3 separate regions of the Homo sapiens genome follow, and all the other regions are linked to region 1. The links are contacts of gene promoters, found by promoter capture Hi-C in human tissues and cell types (Jung and others, 2019). All regions are on one chromosome and are shown on one strand. Each heading gives the region's core, a stretch centred on a gene start or on the middle of the fragment in contact. The rest is flanking DNA. Distances are from core to core; before and after follow the strand shown. Region 1 holds the start of COMMD2 (COMM domain containing 2). Region 2 overlaps WWTR1 (WW domain containing transcription regulator 1). Region 3 overlaps RNF13 (ring finger protein 13).

Region 1 (3,575 bases), core at 1,076-3,575:
ACTTATTAGAAGTCATACAGGTAGTGTCAGAGCCAGATCTGGAATCTAGAGTTTTGAATTTTCACTCAGGTAATTTTTTCTAAACAATTATATCACTTATGGCAACAGAAGTCACTCTATAAATTATCCTGGGGTGTTTTAACTCCCAGGCTGGTTTTTCTTGGATATAACTTGGTTTCTTTCTTTTTTTTTTTTTTGACAGTGTCTGACTCTGTCACCCAGGCTGGAGTGCAGTGACTCAAATCTTGCTCACTGCAACCTCTGCCTCGCAGGTTCAAGCAATTTTCATGCCTTGGGCTACCAAGTAGCTGGGACCACAGGTACATGCCACCAAGCTTTGCTAATTTTTGTATTTTTAGTAGAGATGGGGTTTTACCATGTTGGTCAGGCTAGACTTGAATTTCTGGCCTCAAGTGATCCTCCCGCCTTGGCCTTCCAAAGTGCTGGGTTTACAGGCATCAGCCACCATACCTGGCCTAACTTGGTTCCTTGACCACCTTTTTTAGACAGCCTATTGTGCTACTCCCTAGTCTCACCTTCACCTCGCCTGTCCTCACTTCATTCCCTGAGATTACAGACAAGAAAGGCCATTTCATATTGGCATAATATTGTGTCTATTTGCAAATTCATTTCAGCATTCCTACTCCCTATATATGTACAGTTCTTGAATACCTCTTTTGAATCAGTTGAAACTGGTTTTTACTGTAATCTCTCATTAATTACAGAATGCTGTAATTCTCTCATTAATTAACTAGTTCAATACATTTTTTGACATGTGTTCATTGTACACTTGTAGAAGAATCATGATTTTACCTTTTCTGAAAATTATTCTTTAATAATGGATGTTTTCTCAATAATGTGTGAATAAAGGCAACTTCAGGAAATGATGCAATTTTTGCTAATCTGCAATTCACAGTCTAAGTAAAAGTTGTGTTCTCTCTGCAAATGCTACTTCAAGAACTAACTAATAAGTTCAAGGACCTGTCTTTCTGTGTCCCAGTGGAAGAAACAATTTCAGTCAGATGTGAAGGACAAAGTAGACACAGAGAAGTGAATTGAAAAACTCTTCCAATTTTTAGTCTGCCTGGGAGACTCAGAATATAGAGTTGTCTCAAGCCTTAGATAGAAAAGACAGATATGAAGAGTCTTCTTCCCTTCCCCTCTCTTCCTCCACACCCTCCATTTTCAAGGGGTTAAGATTTGAAGAATCATATTCCTATCAATTAGCAACTTTATCATCTCTGATATTTGAACCACAGCAGGTGAGAAGAGAGTTGGAAAAGGAACTAAATTATCACAGGCGCTAAATACTTTTTAAAAGGCATTGCTCTGGGCCAGGTGTGGTGGTTCATGCTTGTAATCCCAGCACTTTGGGAGGCCAAGTTGGCTGGATGACTTGAGGTCAGGAGTTCAAGACCAGCCTGGCCAACATGGTGAAAACCCGTCTCTACTAAAAATACAAACATTAGCCAGGCATGGTGGTGGGCGCTTGTAATACCAGCTACTCGGGAGGCTGAGGCAGGAGAATCGCTTGAACCCGGGAGGCAGAGGTTGCAGTGAGCCGGGCGACAGAGCGAGACTCCATGTAAAAAACAAAACAAAACAAAACAAACAAACAAAAACATTGCTCTGAATCCTGTAAGCATCGGTCATTGTCATCATTATCTTTATCCTAATTTATAATCACTCATAAAACTTGTCAGAAGCTTTCAGCTTTCAGGCTGTTATGTAGAAGGATGGGCTTTGCAGCAGGTAAGTGAGGGATCCAACCCTCTCCATCTAACTCTGTCACAGGCTTTGTCACATAATCTCTGGAGCTTTGTGTCTTATCTGTAAAAACAAAGCCATGTTTGTTGAGGATATTAACTGAGATACATTTAAGATAACATAGAAGCTCTGGAAACTATTAGCTTTATAAAAGTGTCAGTTGCTGGACTTGTCTATCAGTTTCCTTATCTCTAATGGAAATTATAATGGAACCTACCTCATAGGGTTCTTCTGAACTCCAAATGTATTTAATAAATGTAAGAACACTTCCTGACACGGTTAGTGCTTAACAAATGTGAACTATTGATATTATTAATGTATGCTCCACGAGGGGGCGTGTCGGATTTGAAACACCTTTTCATCTCCCATAGAGCCTAGCACCTTGCACCCAGCAGGCGCTCACTGCATCTTTGCGGGATGATTTCAATGTTCTGACCTCAGCCTGCGCTGCAGGGAACGTCCGAGTGTAACGCGTTAGTTCGTAGGCCGGAACCCAAAGCTCCGGACGCTGCGACGCCGGAGCCTCTAGGCGCCGGGACACGGGCGCCGGAAGTGGCGAAGGCGGGGTCGGCGCTGCCGGGTGAAATCGTAGGACAGTGAAGATGCTGCTGGAATTGTCCGAGGAGCATAAGGAACACCTGGCCTTCCTGCCTCAAGTGGACAGCGCGGGTCAGCGGGCGTGGGGGCGGTGTTCTGTGGGCTGGGGAGGAGGTCAAAGGCAGCGCCTGGCACTCAACAGCCTTCTGACTTTCATTGCAGTGGTCGCCGAGTTTGGGCGGATTGCTGTGGAATTCCTGAGACGCGGCGCAAACCCAAAAATCTACGAAGGCGCCGCCAGTAAGAAGGGAAAGGGGAAGGCTCCGCAGGCTTCTAGGGCGGTTGCGAGCCATTCCCTGTCTCCCGGGAGAGAAACGGATTATTGCGAGTCCTAGGGTCTTGTTCCGATTGTAGTAGAATAAAACCAGCAGAGCTCTTCAGTCAGGGTGCAAATCCTGCCCGTCCCTTAAGTAGCTGTGAGATTGTTAAAGCTTCTATTAAATCAGTTTTCTCATGGTAAAATGTACATAATACCACCTTACTTTCAGAAATACTGAAAAGTGTTTTGTATAAATATACCAAAGTCTGTGGAATAGCTGGGTCAACTGTAAATTGCAAGTATTTGGTTATCATTATTAGTTGTTCAGATATCCGCTTTTGCTAAAAAAAAAAAAAAAAGTGTTGTTTTACCCCTGGGTAAGAGGCAGTCTCTGGGATTAAGTCAATCCCTGTCGAGTTCCTCTTCTGCCAGACTTGAAGGAGCTACGTATTCAAGAGAAGGGCTACGCACCTGATACTAGTCTCCACAGTTCTGCATTTTGTTAAGGTTACTTGGTGGGAAATACCAAAGGCATTTGGCTGGGAGTGGAATGACAAGGAGCAGGAGCCTCTGGCCAACTTACTGTTTTTCATGCAGTGTTTGAAAACATGTAATAATGAATAGTGTTTATTTTTAAATACAAATATGAACAAGATAAATACTACAGTAGTAATTTATTTGCTCGTTTTTACTTTTCTTTCTCAGGAAAACTCAATGTGAGTAGTGACACTGTCCAGCATGGTGTGGAAGGATTAACGTATCTCCTCACTGAGAGCTCAAAGCTCATGGTAAGGGATTTTCTGGACTGTTTTGTGTTGGCTGGATTCTTAAGAACGGTCTGGTGTACTCTACATCATAGTCCTGGCAGGTACCTGTGTGTTTTAATAATGTTGTTAATGGTTTATAATTGATTTTTTGAAGACATACCTAAAAAATAAAAATCATATCATCT
Region 2 (3,575 bases), core at 511-3,010, 160 kb after region 1:
CTTTTGGGTGCAGGGGTGAGGGGGATTATCTTCTAGGACTGATGTTTTATAGAACATCATTGAGGTTACCTTGCCCCATAGCTGTGTCTCCTCACAGTCTGGTTGAACCTGAAAGCATTTGTTACCGGAGAAGTAGATTTTAGGTGGAAATACCAGATGCAGTTGGCAGAATCAGAAGTGTCTCTCCCTTTGCTGAATTCACAATGACTTTGTATTCACTAATTCTTTCTCCTACCCCCTCCCGCAATGTTTCTCACATTTGGCAACATATGATAACATTTGTACATTTTCCCGCACTTTTGTATTAATATATTTATTACGGGTCTGAGTATTTAAACATGAACTTTTTTCTCAAGTCATTTAAAATGACTACAATTCCTAACCCAGAATGAAATGTTTCTTCTAATATAACTATTTTTAATTTCAGAATACATTGCAAAAATGTTTTTTGTGTAAATGTTTTAAAACATAAGATATTATCATGAAAAGGTAATTTCTTAGAAAAATTGGAATTTATCTCTACTACTTTTTTTTGTTTAGAGAAAATTTAGGAAAAGTGAATGTACATCTTGAATTTTAGTTAAGTAATTACAGTTATATAGTCAATTATAAAGGCTGGTTACATAGCTTATTATAGACTGAACACATTTTATACAACAGCCCTATTTGAATATTTTCCCTAGTTATTAAAATAATGAAAACATTAATAAAAACTAAAGGCAATATGATATTAAAAGCATTAATAAAAATGGAAGGCAAGTTAGGCTAAAGTTACTATCAGAGACTGGCTTCTGAAGGAACAGGTTTTGGCTTTCCAAGTGGCAGGGCCTTAAGAATCACATCCCCAGCTCTGGCTTAGGGTTCCAGCATTGCTCATGGCATATTCAGCTGTTGCCTTGCATCTCCAAATCTATCTTCAGAGTCCTTTTACCTCTTCCTTTTAGGTCATAGTGGAGAGTTGGCGTTCCGCTTTGTATTTATGTTTTTTTAAGTAGTATTTGTATTTCTTTCTTTCCTTTCTCCCTAACAACTACAGGATCACATGGACCTAATTTGTTTTATTGTCACAAGAGTCCCTTTTCTTGACAGGATATGCCTAATTAAAACCAGGGTGTTAAAAAAAAAAAAAAAGCTAAGTTTTGCAGGCAAGTTGACATACTGTGTGACTCAAGGGTTTCAGGAGGGACAAGGAGGGATGGTGGTGTGTTATTGAAGCAAGAGGAGGACCAAGCCTGCAGGAGATATTGTTCCAGGACAAAGTCAGGCTATCAGCAGTGCTGACGGTCCACCTCCCCTTTTCCTTCCTTCCTAATGGCCCAAGTTATGCACGTCAGCCTCTTTGGGTTCACAAGGCAGTATTGTATCATGGAAAAAGCCCTAGACCTTATTATGAGAACAAGATTTGACTCTGCTCTGCCACATGGAAACTAAGAACTTATTAAGTAGGTTTACTTCACCCAACTCTGTTTCTGTATCTTTTTTTTGAGACGGAGTCTCCCTCTTGTCACCCAGGCTGGAGTGCAATGGCATGATCTCGGCTCGCTGCAACCTCCACCTCCCGGGTTCAAGCGATTCTCCTGCCTCAGCCTCTCGAGTAGCTGGGATTACACCCGCCACCATGCCTGGTGAATTTTTGTATTTTTAGTAGAGATGGGGTTTCACCACGTTGGCCAGGCTTGTCTGAAACTCCTGACCTCAGGTGACCCGCCTGCCTCGGCCTCCCAAAGTGCTGGGATTACAGGTGTAAGCCACCGCACCCGGCCCATTTTTATTTCTTAAAAACAGAGATTAGTAAGCCTGTTATGTAATGATCAAGTTAAGATCATTTTTGAAGCCATAAAATGGTATATAAATGTCAACTATTATTATCAGACATTAACAGCATGGTTATTGTGAATATTATGACTAATAATTAATATGAATAATTATTATTGTAACTATCATTATTACCATGATTGTCATTATTAGGAATATAAGTAGCAATTCATTCAACATACATTTATTATTTAGTGTCTATTGTATGCTAGATATGGTGGACTTTCAGGACCCATGGTGTATAGTACCTGGTAGAGGCTCAGCCGAGCAGTTTGCAGAATCAACAGGAATGAATTGAGAATGACTTAATTTGTTTAATAGAATGTGACAGCATTCTCTAGAATTTGTTCCTTTCTGGGGCAAGTAAGGAACAAATCTTCCTAGATTAGTTTTATGAGTACTTACAGATAAAAACATATATGATGTGAATAAGATTCAACTGTTATATTTGATACCTAGAAGCAAAATGATTTGTCGAAGTAAACCCATTAAATATGTTCATTCATTCATTCATTCATTCCTTTAATTCAGTCACTTATTCTATGAGTAGTTTTTTAATGTCTGCTGTGTGTAAGGCCTTCTGCATTTAGTCCATAGTTGGGGCTACTGAGAAGTTGAAAGCTGCTTTAAAGTCTCCTTTCATTTTAACACCATTAAAAAAAAAAAAAACTCATGGAAAGGAAAAATCTAAATGTATCCTGTAAAGAAAATACCATTTCCTCTGGTAATTATGATGGTCTATATCCTGTTTAACTCATTGCACGGGGTTCCTCTCCAAGTCAATGAGGATTGCGTAAAGAGTCTGAAGGCAGGATGTGCCTCATAGTGGGATGAGAAGGAGCCTTGTGGCTGGTCGTCAGACTAAATTTAAACCATTATTTGTTGTGAATATATGATTAACGTGGGGGTTAAAAATGAAAAATACAGCTGCAAGAGTAGGTTTCTTCCTTTGATAAAAACAGAAAAAGTCAGGAGGGACAAGAAGAAAACAAACACAGTTACGTGAGGCATGCATTCTCTTTCATAAGAACAGTCAAATATATTTTAGCCTAATCTTTCTTTCTAGATACAATAAATGCCGCTCCCTTCTGGATTAGGCAGATGACAGCAATAACAGTATTGCAGCTGGGAGTCTCCCAGGCTGACAGGTGCTGGATATAAGATGCCCCAGATTGTCCTGTGAAGTACAGGACATGCTAGGCCCTGCTGGATCTGCCCAAGGAGAGGGCAGCTCCTGTGTCTGTTGACACCTCGTTTAGATTCTCCCGCTCACTCAAACAGCTGCCAGAGGCAGCCGTAAAATATTGCTTAATTATAGAACTTCCCTTGATCCTCTTTATCCCTTCCTTCTATTGCATTTTTCCCCCTTTTGTGCCTCTCTCTAGTTCAGAGCACCTTTAGGCTAAGCACTCATGGGAGTATTATGGTGGCGCCTTTTCCAACTCACAGTTAAGGCAGAGACAAGATTTTCAGTCCTGCACTATAGCTGTGGAATTATTTTCAGAGGCTGTAATGAGCAGGTATAGGTTCAAATGTGGAATGCAGCATCATTTTTTAAGCAGGAAATGGGTTCATTTTGGGGGGAGGATAGCTTTCTCATTTTTTTTCTGATTAGAAAAATAATGCTTATTGTACAAAAAGAACAAAGAAATGTAAAGATATGAATAAAGCCTACTTCCCCCTTGTTCATATGTGTTCTATTTACCAAAACGGGATTATGTTCACTCCCACAATATATTTTAGCAAATACAGATCCATGT
Region 3 (3,575 bases), core at 615-3,114, 150 kb before region 1:
ATTTTTTTAGAGACAGAGTCTCACTATGTTGCTCAGGATGCAGTGCAGTGGCTATTCACAGATGGCACCATTGTGTACTACAGCCTGTAACTCCTGGGCTCAAGTGCCCCTCCTGTCTCAGCCTCCCAAGTAGCTGGGGCTACAGGCATTATTGCATTTTTTTTTTTAATAGATGCAGAGGTATTGTTATAGGACTATATTTTTTTTTATATTTGGGAGATATTTTCTATTTTGCTAAGATATTTTCTCTACCACATATGAGTTTAAAGCTTATTTTATTTGATACTTAAAACTTGGAATTGTATGATGCTTTCTTCTTTCATGAAGATACTATGACAAACTCAAGGAATAACTTTTGGTTTGTAACTACTGGCTAATAATATTGGAAGTAACCTAGCTTCTTTGAATTATGACATCTAAAGAGATGTAGAAAGCTCCTTACTTTAATAAAATGATTAAGAAAAAGGGAGAAAATATTGTAAGCAAATATGAGTAGCCATCTTGAAAATGGCAACATTATCTACTGAAAACAAAACTAAATATGTTTTACTTCACAAAATACTTTTAAAACACTCTATTTTGATCTGTAAAACAACTCTGTGAAGTACATATCGACAAAGATAGATTACAATTTGAATGATCCAGCCCCAAACTCTCCAGATTCGTATATCCAATTGTCCATTCAATATCTCCATTTGATTGCCTAATACATGTTTCAAACAAAGTTTCTCAACTGAACTCTGAATGTCTCTTTTCTCTCAGTCGATCAACTCTGTTTCTCATCTCTGTAAACAGCATAGCCATTCACTTAGTTTCTCAGACTAAACATCTTGGAATCATCCTTGACTCCTCCCTTTCCCTTACTCCCTATACCAAATCCTGTCAGCTTCAAAATATAGCCATATTCCTACCACTTCTCATGACTTTAACTACTAATACTCCAAACCACCATTACTCTTGCCTGGCTGCTGCAGCAGCTTTCTAAATGTTCTCTCTGTTGGCACTTTTGCTCACCTTTCACCTTCAGTGTTCTCTCCAAAGAACAGCAAAGTGCTCCGTTTATGAAATATGTCATATTGCCTTACACAGCTGTTTAAAACTTATTTTTTTTTATTTATTCATTCATTCATTCATTCAATCATTTGGAGACGGAGTCTTGCTCTGTTGCCCAGGCTGGAGTGCAGTGGCACGATCTCGGCTCACTGCACCCTCCGCCTCCCAGGTTCAAGTGATTCTTGTGGTTCAGCCTCTTGAGTAGCTGGGACTACAGGCATGCACGCCACCACACCTGGCTAATTTTTTATATATTTAGTAGAGATGGGGTTTCACAATGTTGCCAAGGTTGGTCTTGAACTCCTAAGCTCAGGCAATCCTCCCGCCTTGGCCTCCCAAAGTGCTAGGATTACAGGCCTGAGCCACTGTGCCCAGCCTAAAACTTATTTAGAATAAATTCCAAAGTCCTTATCATGGCTGACAAGGCCCATCATATTTGACCCCTGGCTCCTTCTCTAACCTTATCCCCCCACTCCCTCCCTTGTTCACTACTCTAGCCATTGTGGCTTTATGCCACACTTTGGAAACACCAAGCATGCTTTATCTTTGAATTGTTGTACTTGTTGTTCCGTCTCCTTGGAATACCCTCCTTCAGAAATCTGCATGACTCAGCCTCTAACTTTAGATCGGTGCTCAAATTGCAATGCCTCACAGAAGCTTTCTCTGACCACCCTATCTAAAATAGCTGCCTTCCTTTCATCTCTGTCATTCTATATCCCCTTATGCTGATATTTTTCTTCATAGCATTTATCACTACTTGACATTATAGCACATCTATTTGATTATGTGTTCATTTCTTCTCTCCTACTCTAGAATGCAATAAAATGATAATAATCACAATAATAATATCTGAACAATCATTAAATGATTGCTAAGAACCAGGAAGTCCTCTAGACACTTAACAGGCCTTAATTCATTCAATCTTCATCGCAACTAAATAACTTAGGTACTATTATTATCCTAATTTCACAGATCAGAAAAACTGAAGCATATAGATATTAGGTAATATACCCAAGGTCATACAGCTACTAGGTGGTAAAGCTGGGATTCAAACCCTAACAAGCAGTACCCGGAAAGTACTCTCTTAAGTACTGCACTCTACTACCTCAATGAAAGATATGAAGGCAGAGCCTCTGACTGCATCATTACTTCCTATAGTCACAGTGCCTAAAACAGTGCAGGGTAGGCTGTCAAAATGCATTTGTTGAAGAAAGAAATCAAAGAAAAAAAGGAAAAAAAAAATGACCCAGAGATATTAACAACTTGACCTGGTTATACAGTTAGATATTTGCACAGTCTGGACTCAAACTGGAGGCTTCTGACTCCTCATCTAGGCTCCTCTCACTCTGCCATTGCATGGGTTTTCTCATATACCTTCTCTCATAAGGTTTTCACAAATTTGTCAGGTCAAATAATTATCAAAATTATTCACACTATTATAGATGAAAATAATGTGCTTATAAAGATTAAGTAACTTTCCTGAGGGCGCAGGTATCTGGTTCACATAACAACTAGCCTGGCTTAGAATAAACACATATTTCCTGGTTCTGAAGTTGGTGTCCTTCCTACCACTTTCTGCTGTCTCCTAAAGATAAAGAATGTTATTGGCTCACTGAATTAATCCATTCTGTTCCTGGCTGAAATAAAAATTGGTATATTCCTTACGTGAAGTGTCAACAGGAAGGGGCTTTTACAACTTCCTTTTGTTTCCAGGCGTTAGTATCTCTGCTTGGTATAAGATACCAGTATTCCTAGGAAAGGCCTTGAAAAGAGGGACAGATACAAGCCTCTTCTGATAAATCTATGCTTTTCTTACCTCTACCAAGTAATAGCAAACATGAAAATGGTAAAGATCTTTACAACATTTGTCTCTGTACATATAAAACGTTTAAACACATGCGCAAAGATGGAGCAAAATATCATAGAAAATAATCTAAGCAACAAAGTCAAGAACCAAAATTCTGAGCAGTCTTTGAACAACAACTCAGTTGAAACATTTCCATGGCAACAGCAGGCTTATATGGTTGTGTGCTACTTTTAATATTGAACATATTTTCTTTAGGAGCTGACATGATTATCACAAAAAGGTTTTACAGTATTACAAAGAAAAAATAAGTGATAAAGGGAACTGACAATTTCAGCCTGCAAAATTTTTACTGAAAACATGTCAAAAGAGTAAATAGTTTACAAATAATAATCAATTTGTTCAATCCAAAACATATTCAGCCCTTGAGAAGGTCCTGAAGGTTTGCTAAATCCTGGGCTTGGGCCTTTAGCAAAACACACAAAGAGTAAGTAACTTGCTCAAAGTTATACAACTGATACAAGTAGGATTTGATTTCGAATTCAGGCCTATCCATTTCCAGACTACGCATGCTTTCCATTTTGCCAGTAAATGTATACAGATCACAAAAGTTACTGACCATGGGATGTATCAACTGGGATAATTTTTTTTAAGAGGGAAATAGTTAAAGGAGAAGTAAAATGTGTCAAATTGGCAGTACTAACATTACCAGTTTATT

What was found. The method cuts DNA at HindIII sites, captures the fragments that hold promoters and counts their contacts. A contact is called where the count stands out against the background at its distance.
Region 2: a contact is called between a fragment that was not itself captured here and the fragment with the promoter of COMMD2 in region 1, in 1 of the 25 tissues and cell types used here (bladder).
Region 3: a fragment that was not itself captured here is called in contact with the fragment with the promoter of COMMD2 in region 1 in 1 of the 25 tissues and cell types used here (hippocampus).

Annotation. Positions count from the first base shown.
Region 1 is chr3:149,751,239-149,754,813 of GRCh38, reverse strand. COMMD2 (COMM domain containing 2) reads left to right here and starts at 2,325. Exons shown (of 5, transcript NM_016094.4): 1 at 2,325-2,436; 2 at 2,527-2,604; 3 at 3,329-3,411. The coding sequence starts at 2,370. RefSeq lists a silencer at 2,100-2,169. The HindIII fragment of the contact is 2,909 bases long and covers 1,022-3,575 here.
Region 2 is chr3:149,588,556-149,592,130 of GRCh38, reverse strand. All of the region lies in intron 2 of WWTR1 (WW domain containing transcription regulator 1), which reads left to right. Among named protein-coding and RNA genes, the nearest start is that of WWTR1-IT1, 62 kb to the left of the region's middle. The HindIII fragment of the contact is 4,755 bases long and covers 1-3,575 here.
Region 3 is chr3:149,897,019-149,900,593 of GRCh38, reverse strand. All of the region lies in intron 5 of RNF13 (ring finger protein 13), which reads right to left. Among named protein-coding and RNA genes, the nearest start is that of PFN2, 72 kb to the left of the region's middle. The HindIII fragment of the contact is 3,542 bases long and covers 94-3,575 here.